2 separate regions of the Homo sapiens genome follow, and region 2 is linked to region 1. Evidence: promoter capture Hi-C in 16 types of primary human blood cells and fetal thymus (Javierre and others, 2016). All regions are on one chromosome and are shown on one strand. Each heading gives the region's core, a stretch centred on a gene start or on the middle of the fragment in contact. The rest is flanking DNA. Distances are from core to core; before and after follow the strand shown.

The links. The method cuts DNA at HindIII sites, captures the fragments that hold promoters and counts their contacts. A CHiCAGO score of 5 or more calls a contact.
Region 2: a contact is called between a fragment that was not itself captured here and the fragment with the promoter of KICS2 in region 1, in 1 of 17 cell types (naive CD8 T cells). The highest score is 5.4, in naive CD8 T cells.

What each region holds. Positions count from the first base shown.
Region 1 is chr12:64,217,123-64,223,697 of GRCh38, forward strand. KICS2 (KICSTOR subunit 2) reads right to left here and starts at 5,174. Exons shown (of 3, transcript NM_152440.5): 1 at 4,881-5,174. The coding sequence starts at 5,115. LOC124902952 (a long non-coding RNA gene) reads left to right here and starts at 5,227. Exons shown (of 2, transcript XR_007063347.1): 1 at 5,227-5,421. RefSeq lists enhancers at 4,698-4,817, 4,888-4,947, 4,982-5,576, 5,058-5,147, 5,298-5,487 and 1 more. The HindIII fragment of the contact is 7,597 bases long and covers 1,672-6,575 here.
Region 2 is chr12:65,180,206-65,186,639 of GRCh38, forward strand. All of the region lies in intron 1 of LEMD3 (LEM domain containing 3), which reads left to right. Among named protein-coding and RNA genes, the nearest start is that of LEMD3, 14 kb to the left of the region's middle. The HindIII fragment of the contact is 1,756 bases long and covers 2,604-4,359 here.

The sequences.
Region 1 (6,575 bases), core at 3,924-6,423:
ATGAATCTTCCTTCCCTTACTACTAGGTAACCAACTTGTCCCAGTTTACCCAGGACTTTCCAGGTTTTAGCACTAGAAGTCTAGCTTCTCAGGAAATCTTTATAAGGTTTTAAAACAAAGTCCCACATCCTAGAAATCCCTCAGGCCTGGGAAAATTTTGAACAGTTGGTTACCCTACTTATTTCTGACACCCCAGACAAACTACTGATACTTTGAAAAGTGTTTTTCCAATATACTGTCTAAACCAGGGGTGTTCAATCTTTTGGCTTCCCTGGGCCACATTAGAAGAAGAAGAATTGTCTTGGGGCACATATAAAATATGCTAACACTAACCATAGCTGATGAGGAAAAAAAAAAAAACGCACAAAAAATCTCATATTGTTTAAGAAAGTTTAGCCAGACATGGTGGCTCATGCCTGTAATACCAGCACTTTGGGAGGCTGAGGCGGGAGGATCACCCGAGGTCAGGAGTTCAACACCAGCCTGGCCAACATGGTGAAACCCCGTCTGTACTAAAAATACAAAACAATTAGCCAGGCATGGTGGTGGGTGCCTATAATCCCAGCTACTCGGGAGGCTGAGGTAGGAGAATCGCTTGAACCAGGGAGGCAGAGGCTGCAGCGAGCCGAAATCGTGCCACTGCACTCCAGCCTGGGCAACAGAGCAAGACTCCATCAAAAGAAAAGAAAAGAAGAAAAGAAAAGAAAAGAAAGAAGGAAGGAAGGAAGAAAAGGAAAGGAAAGAAAAGAAAAGAAAGGAAAGGAAACCAAAGGAAAGAAAAGAAAAGAAGAAAGGAAGGAAGGAAGGAAGAAAGAAAGAGAAAGAAAGAAAGTTAGTTTATGAATTTGTGTTGGGCCGCATTCAAAGCCATCCTGGACTGCATGTGGCCCGCAGGCCACAGGTTGGACAAGCTTGTTCCAAACAGATTGAGTAGCTGGCACATCATTTCTCCAACTAATACAATTAAAGTCCATATGGGTACAGGTGGACCAGATGTGACACCAATATCTCATACGGAACTGTTCCCTACAGGGTTTGCCTTCCTCCCATGCCCATATTCAGTTTAGCTCTGCTGATTTTGTACAGTGAAGGGTACAACATAAATAGACCTCTGTGCCCACATCTAGGATAAAACCTCTCGGCTTAGGAGGGTAATAAGAGTATCATATAAAACCTAAAAGCTGTGGAGGTCTGAAAGACTTGGTTTCAAACCCCAGCTCCCACAATTACAGGCTATGTTGATGTGCAAACTACTGAACCACTTTGAGCTTTAGCTGTCATTTTTAACATAAAACTGGTGATAGAGCTAAAAAAAACAAATGAAATAACATTTGGTGTGTAATGTGCCTGGAACAAAGAATATATTCTATAATACTAATTCCTTTCCCTTCTATTTATAACTGATACATTTTTTAAAACTCCTAATAATAATACATAATTGAGCTTCTGAAACTGTGGTGAATTGGGAGCTTCAAATACTACAAAAAGAATAGCTATCTAGTACTATTAAACGGGGTGGCCTTGGTGAAAATTTTAACTTCACATTGAAAAAGGGATATCATCTGTCTCTAGGACTTATGGGAGAAAAAAAAAAAAGGATACCTAACTTCATCAGATTACCCCTATCTGGGGGAACGGAAACACTACATAAATACAAAGAATACCTTTAAAAGCTTATCGGTAAACGCTAATCACCAGCATGTGAAACCAAGTAAAGTGAAACTACTCTAAGGAAGAGATAGACCATCAACACATTTCTTTCAAACAGTTCTCTTTTCTCAAAGCTCTCAGGAACCCAATCCTATCTGTTCACTATCTTGGTTTGGAATATCCAGCGGGGACTGACCTTTCTTCATGCTGGAAAACAAGGAATCAGAAACATCCAACTTCTTTCTCTTTTCAATATTTTTAATTTAAAAAATATGATTACTTTGAATGATTTTTAGAAGGCTCTAGTTATAAATGCTCATAATTTCTCAAGATTTCAAGTTCATCTCATGTCATGAAATTTTAAGTGTATTGAAGGAACGTGTAAAACATCTTGGGCATTTTATTCTCCAACTTCTTGCTAATAATACTTTTTAAACATCAGTTCTCAAGTTAAGTCATTTTCTACTATGCTAAATTTCAGCAACCCAAGGTTGAGGAAACTCTCCAGTAATGAAACAAAGGGAAGAAAAGTATGACCTTCTAAAATTCTCCACAGGCATTGAGTCAGCATATTTTAATCACTGATCCTTCCCCAAACAGGTATTATTCTCTCTTAAAGGAAAGAGAAGGAACCAAGATAAGGGCCCTACTCGAAGTTTTTCAGTAACAGGGTCAAGACAGGAAAAGAAAGCTCCCTGTCAAGGTCTATCCTTTGTCTAAAGGCCCTGCTTGCTTCTTTAATCAGGATTCACTGCTAAGGCCTCAAATAAATACCATCCATAAGAGAGGTAAAAAAAGACTCCCTTTTTACTTGAAATTTGCTAAGAGAGTAGATCTTAAGTATTCTCACAATATACACATGAAAGAAAGAAGGAAGGAAGGAAGATAACTATGTAAGGTGATGGATATACTAAGTAGCTTGATTGTGGTGATTATTTCACAATTTACATATACATCAAAACATCAAGTTGTACATCTTAAATATATATAGTTTTATTTGTCAATTATATCTCAGTAAGGCTAAAAAAACTTTTCAGAATTGTTTTAAATTTTTTAAACGCACGCATAAACTTTTTGTTTTGCTTTCTAAAGAAAACTATATAAATGTTCTAATGAGCAAAGTAGTTGGAGAACATGGGAATGTTTTAAATGGCAACACGAAAGTTTTCTCCTGAAGTTTTTAAGAAAATAGTAAACCGGGTAATTGTGTAGTCGTATTGTAAGCACACTGATATCATATACACTCCAGTACCCAAAAAAATGTGCAAAGATAAAATTTAAATTCTGGAACTTATGTTTACTGTACGTGTAAATAAGTTATGAAGCATTAAATATACCATTTTCAGAATATTTACTCAGAAATGAGGAGCCCACCTAGGAACGTAACAGTGCCTGGGCATGTTTCACAGCACCAAATGTTGTATAGGTCAGTTTCAAGGCATAGTCCTCATGCTCACCCATGCCAGCTGGGGTTCAAGCAGAACTAATCAATTTACACATTGAGGACCACTTTACAGAACCCAAGTCAGAGACAGTGAAGATCTTATACACACATTCTTACACACAGGGCAGCCAGTTCTGTTTACGTAAAAACCTGGCTCATTCAACTTAAAACTAGAGTAGCAGATTTTTTTAAATGGAGTCAATAAATAGACTTTAGAAAATTCAACTGAACCCACTCAGGTTATACGCAAAATTATATGTACATATATATTTTTCTGGAGAGTAAGTACACAGCTTTCATCAAATTTCCATGGATAAGTTAATAAAAAAAAAAAGCAAAGAATCATGGCACTTGAATCAGTCACCATTCTTTGAGGTGGGGGAGTCTAAAAACAACTGAAACTGCCTAAATATTACCTACCTTCAGTATTACAGCTAGAATCCACCCCATTTTCACATATATAAAAAACATATATCTGTATATATTATACATAAATTATAATTTTCATACACATTTTTAATAAGTTATATGAATGCAAACTCAATCTGAGAGTACAAGGGCAGATATTTTGGTTTCGACTCTATCATCTACCCAACATAACTGCATATATAATTTGCTAATCTATAGAAAGGGGAATAATAACACCATAGCAGCAACTGCAAATTTGTGAGAAATGCCATTGTAAAAAGGGGAGGAAAAAAATAAGGTGAAACTATCTGACCAGTTTTTGCTAATAAATTAGCATACTAAATAAGTATGTATAAATCAACATACTTGCTACAGCAATTACGAACTCAGGAAGCCCTGTCTCTTGAGTGTTTACTGAAAGCTCAATAAGATGTACATGGTCACCTTCAGGCAATATAAGGAAAGTAGGGGGCTGGTTAGGGAACGGGGGGGGGTGGATCAAAATGAAATCTACACCAATTTTACATTTCTATTCTCTGTATTTTATATACGTGTCCTTCATTCACATCAGACCTCACGCTTCTGAAAATTGAAGAGTCTAAAACAGGTCAAAGTACTGACTCTGAAACCCCTAGGATTCAAATATATTTATTTGTCATAATTAAGCAGTAATATTATTTTGTATGCATATTCCATGCCTTTTACATCTATTATTTCCTTCTCATCTACTTATACTTATTGCTTCTACTAGTAAAAATCAGTTGAATCAGCTCTTGAATCTTATTTCAGAGGCAAGATGTACATGAAGTGCTAAGAGTGTTTACCATTTTCCCCTTAAGTCTCTTCTTGCTAGTGTTAGGCATATTTCTTGCCTTTCCTGCCCAATATTCATTTATTACTTTAGTCATTAAATATGTATTGGGGGACTATGAAGACGGGGTAGGACTCTAAATGTGACTCTCGGGCCTTAACCTTAAGAGGCCACACAACAGTGTTCAGTAATAGAACTAGGTTGTTTTGCAAAGTTTTGCTCTTCTGGCTGCAGCGTCACTAATTAAAACAATGAAGACATAGTTTGGTTAACTTCTCATTTATGGCATCAATCCATGCACGAGGCAAAAGGGCAAACCCTTCGGTTTGGGTCACAGCCCTGCAAAGAGCATCTACCCAGTTCGCCAATCTATCAGCAGCGCAGGCCGGTGGGCGGGGCTTGTGGAAGCCCAGGGAAGGAAAGGAACGGTGGGAGGAGATCTGGGAATGCCGAGTCGAGCCTGCGACTAGAAGTGACACAGAGACGGGAAACCCAAGCCACTGCCGACTGGGGAATATACCCCCTTTACTTCCTCCTCAAGGGGCTCGGGGGGCGGGGCGGAGGTACCTAGTTTCTGCCCCAGGTAGGTGAGGCTGTGATAGACCTTCTCGGCCGCGGCCAGGTGCGCCAAGGCCGCCAGCAGCGACAGCCAGCTGCCCCCCGCGCTCTTGTTGGCCTCTCGTTCCTTCTCCACATTGTCCTTAGCCTTGTCGTAAGAGAAGATACCCAGGTGAGAGAAGAACGTCTCCAGCACCGCCTGTTCCACCGGGACCGGGGCGGCCAGCGGGATAGACTCCCCCATGCGAGCTGCGCCCCAGCTCGACCCACGTGGCTCTCCTCGGCCTCGCACTTCCGGGTTCTGAGGGAACGGGCTTGCGCACAAGCGTGCGTGCGCGTGACCGCCTCCACCGGCGGACTCGTGAGCGCGCCGCTGCCGGGACCGCTCCTGGGCCTTAGAGAAGACGCGGATAAGGGCCAAGGAAAGAGGGAGGTAGCGGTTGCTGAGCTCCTTCGGCGCTTCGGCTCCTGTAGCTCTGACTATTCGGACCGTCAAGGTAGAATAGGAGGCGGCCAGTTCCCCGCTCTAAGAAGTTGCCTGCGCTCTGAGGTGAGCTGACAGGCCCCTCTCTGTGTGGTTCGTCAGCGCTGGTGACGTCATGCAAACGTGACGTCAGCCCTGGCCAGAACATCTGGCCTGGGCTCTCCAGGCACCTCGCTGGGCCGGCTGGGAGATGGGGAAGTGCCTGGAGTTGTGCCCACACTCACAGCAGGGACCCTAGTCAGCCCTGACACCTTCTACACCAACTCATGGAAGTGATTTGCTGAGATTAGAAGACTGACGGGTAAAGGTTGATCTCCTTCCCATTGCCTAGTTTTCATCACATCACACACCACCGGTTAACTCTCACCTGTATCCCGTTCTAGTTCTCCCGGGTCTGTGTTAGCCCTGCAACTAATAAGTAGAGCCCCTGGCCCAAACTGCATTAACCTTCCTTAAAAAGTTATCTTTTTTTTTTCTTTTTTTTTGAGACGGAGTCTCGCTCTGTCGCCCAGACTGGAGTGCAGTGGTGAGATCTCGGCCCACTGCAGCCTCCACCTCCCGAGTTCAAACGATTTTCCTGCCTCAACCTCCCTAGTAGCTGGGATTACAGGCCAGCGCCACCACACCTGGCTAATTTTCGTATTTTTAATAGAAACAGGGTTTCACCATGTTAGCCAGGCTGGTCTCAAACTCCTGGCTCAAGCAATCTTCCCACCTCAGCCTCCCAAAGTTTTGGGATTACAGGTGTGAGCCACCACCCCTGGCCAGAATGAAGAATACATTAATGTAAATTGTGCACGTTGTCATTTAGAATAATTACAAGTTCCTTTGGCATTTAAGAAACCCCATGAACCCGGCTCATACTTGTATGTCCACTACTTTGAAACACTACCCACTACTCAATAGTTTTTTCCTTTCTTCTTTGTGCATACTTATTTTATGCTTCTTAGTCACACTATTTAATCGCATATATTTACATATCTCTTTCCCCAAGTGGTGAGATCCCTAGGGTACAGTAGGGTTCACTTACAGTTATAATCTTTTCATATTGGACGGCGCAGCCATGTTTGTTGAACAAATGAGAGAATTGCCTATTTTCGTTTTTTCTCAAACTAGAGCTGTTCTGCCATCATCACTACCTTTTAAAGGAAATCCCACTAATCTAATTTTAATGAATAGGTATTGTGCACCTGTTCCCTATACTCAAGAATGTAATTGGA
Region 2 (6,434 bases), core at 2,232-4,731, 960 kb after region 1:
AAAGTGCTGGGGTTACAGGTGTGCGCCACCGTGCCCTGCCCTAACATAGATTTTAAAGTGAACCAGTAACAGTATAGTTGAGCAGTAACCTTTGGATTTCACTGTTTTAATAATCTATGCTTTAAACTGCATCAGTTTATATATTATATATTATATATATAGTTAATAATATTCTTTATTAACAATATTGCCAAAATTTTTTTAAACAAGAGTTTACCAGGAAGAAAATAAGTTAGGTTTTAATAATTTATTTTGCATGTTTAATATCATTATTTAAAAAATATATTTCTTAGGAAATTAGCTCTTCAAAAAGGTTATAAAAGTTATAGTAACAGAGGTAATCTCTAAAAATAGAATAATGCATCTATCATATGGAAGCCATCATGAATTACTTTTCATATGTCTTCATTTTCTTTTATGTCAAGGTATAGTTTAAAATTATACCACTGAATTTTTCCTGGGTGCTAGATTTATTGCTCTGTGCTTTTGCACAGCTTTTTACTTAAAATGCTTTTGCAAGATGACTTCTGAATTCATCTTTACAGCTATGTTACTATCAAATGGCAAGCTAAAGTTTAAAAACAAGGCTTGGTTGTAAAACTATGCAAGAGTGTAGTTCAGCTCTCCTGAACTAATTGGGTAGTAAGTATGCACCAATTGCTGTTCTGCCCTGAATATGACATGAATAGAAAAAACCCTTTAGTAGCAAATGGATATTTTAGCACATAGCAGAAAATTAATTTTGTTTCTCAGTTAGCTCATATATATCTGAGTATGTACACAAACACACACACACACACACACAATTTTCTGACTATGGCTAATTCCTGAAAGCATGCTGTACTTACAAAGGATGCTTTTGCTCTGTAGGAATTCACCAAGGTAAAATTTTCAAAGCATATGAAGAGGATTGTTGAAATTAATTAGGAGGTGAGGGGAATCTTGGGATATCTACTTCTTCTAGCCTCTGAGCTATGGCTTGGAACCTTGGTCAGCCTTATTAAGGACTTCCTTAGTTTATAAGTGTATCTCCCATGGGATCACAAATGCTTTCTTGTTTGATTTAGTTCATTTGAAGAAACATTAAGTTTCTCCTACTCATTTATTCATTCAGTCACGCATTCACCCAGATTATTTATTGAGCACCTATACTATGTACCAGGTAATGGCAGAAGATAAGTATATATCATACCTTTTAGAACTATAGGAGTGACACTCTCCCCACGCTTTGGCTGGCATTCTCTTCTTTTTCCTAAATATTTCTGCACTAGCTAGCCTTCAGAATTGGGATTTTGTTACCATGCAACAGTGTATCAGATTTATATATTGTGACTTGGGAAACATACTTTAAAAATTAGTTTCTGTAAATTTGAGTATACCATCTGGTAAAGCTTATCACAGTGTATATATACACAAAAGAAATAGTTGGCTAATTGAAGTAATGTGTGTTGATCATTCCTTTCACCTTTTCTGTATTACCATTTTCTCAATTGGGAATTCTACCTTTAAAAACCACACAATTTTAATAAATGTAGGTTTTATTTTTTGCAGGTTTTTAGGAGTAATTTTTAAAAAAGGAAGAGACATGAAGAATGAATTTGCCAAAAATGAAAATGTTATAAAATCTGAACATTTATGATTATGGTTCAAGATGTTCTAGAAATATTCTTATCCTTTTGACAGAAGTGTTTTGTTTTTTTTTTTTAATTTCATCTCTAAATGTCCCGTCTTTCAGATTTTAAAGCCTTAGGTGAGAAGAGCAAACATTTATTGAGAATTTTCAATGTGTGTGAGCATTTTATTTTAATTTTCATGAGGGTAACTACTCATACTATGTCTGTGAGAAAACGGAAAGATAGAGGGAATAAGGTTACAAGTGATTTGTCCAAGGTCCCACAGCTACTAGGTGTTGGAGCCAGCATTTGAACCCAAGATCTAACTTTAGAGTTCACAGTATTAACTACCAGGCAGCAGTAGAATTTTTTTATACTTTATCTTATCGTTAGCTACAGGCTTTATTTGGGCAAGCAAGATAAACACAACCTCTGGGCCTTGCTTTTTGTGTCTGTTAAATGAGGGTATAGTAAAATCAACTTTACTTCCAGCCAGTGATTTTTGTAGGGAACTGCTGTGATAATGTCTGTAGAAATGCTTTGGAGAAATTTGGAGTGATATATAACTGTAATTTTAATATTATAAGATAGGACTTAACAGCTATAGTAGTTTAAGCAACACATGTTCAGCATTATGACATGTCCTGTCAGTAATGTTAATAAGTAATAGAGTTGGCTAAATTTATAGTCCTTATCAGTATTTAAACCTTTCAAGCTGTCTGAGCAGATAAAAGGGAGTTATCTTTTCACGTTACATAATTAGTGCCTTCCTTATCTCCAGGACTGAAAAATAATGTGGTTTTTTTTTGCAGCTATATTAAACAGGTGATGACACAACTTGAAACTGGATTGTAGCCTTGCTGATCACTAAAAGGTAGATTTGCTGATAGGAAAGTCAGTGTAAATGGGTTACATTGCTTTAATCCAAAATGTAGTACTGAATTTGAGACGGAAAAACATTTTTTAAGAATGAGGATGGGTCTTGGAGTAAGCTTCTGTTAATACTGTGTGAAGAACAGACAATGCATACAGTTGATACAGAAAGGTGGCTTGTCACATGCCGTTCTTCAGCTAGTTTGTAAGATACCATGAGTACTGTTATTATCAAAGTGGGAAGATGACATGTGTCCCCATGAATAGGCAATAGGTGAATATTAATAGTACTTAAATTAGAAGGTATTTAAAGTACATTAGGATCTTCAGTCTCTTAGATAAGTCATACGAAGCACATAATGAAATTTCCATCCCATTTTGCATTTGAAACTGTTACCAGTGATGGTTTAGACCAGAACCGTCCAGTAGAAATATAAGCCACACAGTAGCCACGTTAAAACATAAAAAAGTTGAGATTAATTTTAATAATTGATTTTATTTAATCTGGTATACCTAGAATATTATTTTGACATATAATCAATATAAAAGTTTTTGATGAGATAGATATTTTATGCTCTTTTTTGAATTAAGGCTTTAGAATCCGATATGTATTTTGCATTCATGGTGTATCTCAATTCAGACTAGCCATATTTCAAGTGCTCAGTAGCCACATTTGGCTAGTTGACTACCCTGTTGGGTAGTGCAAGTCTGGACCGCTCTGAGTTATGGAGTTATATTATTGGTTTAATGAGACCTAATGACAGTCAAGCATTACAATGCCTGTAATGTGCCATGTATAGTGTTCTCTATAATATTTTCAGAAGATCTTTGTAATAACTCTATGATGTCAGTTTTGTTATCATTTTAGACATAGACAGTGAGGTATGGAGATATTAATTTGTCTAAGATTAAACAGGTAGTCTGTAGAGGAGCAGGATTTAAAGCTAAATCTGACCCTAAAACCGCTGTCCTGTTTTTTGTTTCTGTTGCACTGTTTTAAAGCACTGCCACTAGCGTTTGGGCAGGTAGGTGGGTGAGGTGTAGTTTTGGCACTGCTCAGCCAGTGACTTGTGATTTAATTTTTCCTTATTTTTAGGCACAAAGGACTTCTTAGCTTAGAGTGGAAGTGGTATCTTCTAAGTCCTTGCTCATATTCCTGATTGGGAATGTTCCTTTATACTTGTTCCTCATTTCCCATTCATTAAACTGCTTTCTACAATTCTTTAAACATGTAGAATGGAGAGATGGCTCTTTGAGTCTGTTACAGGACCGTGGCGGCAGATAAGGGAAAGCTCAGCTCCTATTGGCAAAAGTGAAAACTAATGTCTAGTAAAACTTTTGTCTGGATGAAGAAGTTTTCTAAGGGTTTCAGTACTTCATTCTGAGAAAGAATTGAGAAGTTCTTATTCATCATGCTCTTTGAATTGTAAATATTTTTTCAGTTATTTTACAGGATTTTATATTGTGGATTAATACTTAGCAGCATGTTCTATTTAATTTGAATAATTTCTTTGAATTACATTTGGATTCCTAGAGAATATTTTCTCACAAACTTTTTCATTTCAAAAGGAAAAACAGGCAGTCCCTAATTTTTGAATACGTTGTCTTCCAGATTGTGTGTAAAACAGTTGTTTGAACTTGGAGCATGTTTTACTACACTGGTTTTAAGTTCCTGGGCTAGCCCACAGAAGCCTATTTAAAACCACATCCTATTTTAGCACTAATATACTGTTGGTTTAAGTTTAGGGAATCAGAGCATTGGATCGTGTTCTGTGGGAGTTGGAGGAGAAAGTAAGTTTATTTTTGGCTTTTAGTGTTTTCTCTTATACTTTTTCATCTCTTTAATTTCTGTTTTCCAACTTATACTGGCCTAAGCTTTCTGCTCTTTTACTATAATCTTGGCTCAATAACTTTAAAAGATTCAATAACTTCTAAGTGCTCAATAACTTCAAAATTTTCTGTATGGAATAGGTTTACTTGTTGAGTGCTTGGCAAATAAACGTTTTATGCTCATTCGTATCTCATTTAGTTTTAAGAGTTTTATGAGGTAGGGGCTAGTTTTCCATCATTAATGAGGAATCTGAGGATTAGGTTAATCACTTTGTCCAAGTTTATAGGGCAGGGAGAGGAGTTATGGAGTTAACGTTGTTGGGTAAAAACCTTAGCAACATGACTTGAAAGCTCATCCACTAACCATTGGACATACTGTTTTCCTTTTTCACATATCCTCTTCTCCTTTCTCTCTTTACTAAGTTCCAACTCCCCCTATTCCCTCAATTCAGATACTTTTTTTTTCTTTTTGAAAGAGATGTGTCTTGCTCTGTTGCCCAGGCTAGCCTCAAGTAATTACTCGGGCCTTGGGCTCAAGTAATCCTCCCACCTCAGTTTCCTGAGCAGCTGGTCTACAGGCACACACCACCAAGTCTGGCAGTCATCTACTTTAAACTAAATGTTAGGGTAAGCCATTTGATTGAATGAATTCATAATATAATGTTGTAGAGCTCTGTTCATAAAAATTGTATGATTTTATGATAAAATTTGGTAATGTGATTATCTTTAGTGAGGATTGAGCCAATATGGAATCAGAGTTTAGCCCTGCCTCTCTAAATTGTTCTTTATCCTTAAATGTGTAGTAGCTGGATTGCCTACAATTCTACAATTTTCTGTTAGAATTTATGGCAGTAGTTTTCAACTGTGGACTGAGAACATTTTGGGAACTGTGCCCATTATAAAGTTTGTCTGAAGACCTAATAAATAATTTGCCTTTCATACTGTGCTATTATTTTTCAATGGTATTTCAATACTGCTGTGATTAAAATATAAAATATTATATGCATGGTAGAATTTGGTCATATTTTCTTAATATAAGTGGATATCAAAAGTACTGTTATGGGGAATCTGAATATCTTGATATAAATGAAGTCCTTTTGCTTTAAGAGTGGAGAATCATTACTTAAAGAATGTTACAAGGAAATTATATATAAATTTTATATATAATATATATAGCATTTATTTTCAAGACATTCATACTTAATGTCACAGAATCAGTTGTAGTGTTGAAATGACTGACTGACTTACCAGCTGGTAACCCCTTAATCTCAGAGGTGATTGTACAAGATCTTGATTAACTCAGATTCTATTAATATCTTTGATTGGTAAAACATTTTTGGCAGTAAGTGAAAAATTCAGGCATTATAAAAGACTTGGGGAGCCTTGCCTTGGAGTTTTCTATCTCTCTAAGAACTGTCATTTTATCCCAGTAGCTCTATGGTAGAGACAGATGAAGGTTGGAGTAGCAGTATATTGTGTTATTTTATAAACGTGCTATTTTTTATTTCATGCTGAGATTGGGAAAAGATAACTTATTAATCTATCTAAGATATATTAGGTTATCTCTCTCCATGCTGCTGGGCATAGTTACAAAACATCCTATTTTACAATGAGGAACTAGAGTCCCACAGAGGGTAACTTGCCTGAGATTCTAAGTCATAAACTTTGGAGCTAGTATTTCTTGCCTCAAGAGATTTTTTTTTTCTTTTACATTTTGCCCGTTGCTTTTTATTGTGAAGAGATACTTATTCATCTAAATGATATAACTTGCGGAGCAAGCATTACTTAAAACAAAATTTGTATTTTACTTAAATTTTAACAACTTAAATTCTTTAATTTTTAAAAAATTGTACAAGGTTGAACTTAATACAAAATAGCTATAAATTATATTAATGCCATCTTATCCAAGAATGAAAAAGGATAAAAATATTACTCATTTACTTTGAAAATATTCAGTACCTTTTAAAAAATTCTAATATTTGGGTTAGGAAATGAGAAACTAGGATGATTTAGGAGAGTCTTTTCCTGAGTTTTGTTTTGGGCAGAATATCAGTCCAAATGCATTTAAAAAAATAGGAGTATACTATGCTGCAAGGTTGGTTTAGATTGCTTTTTTTT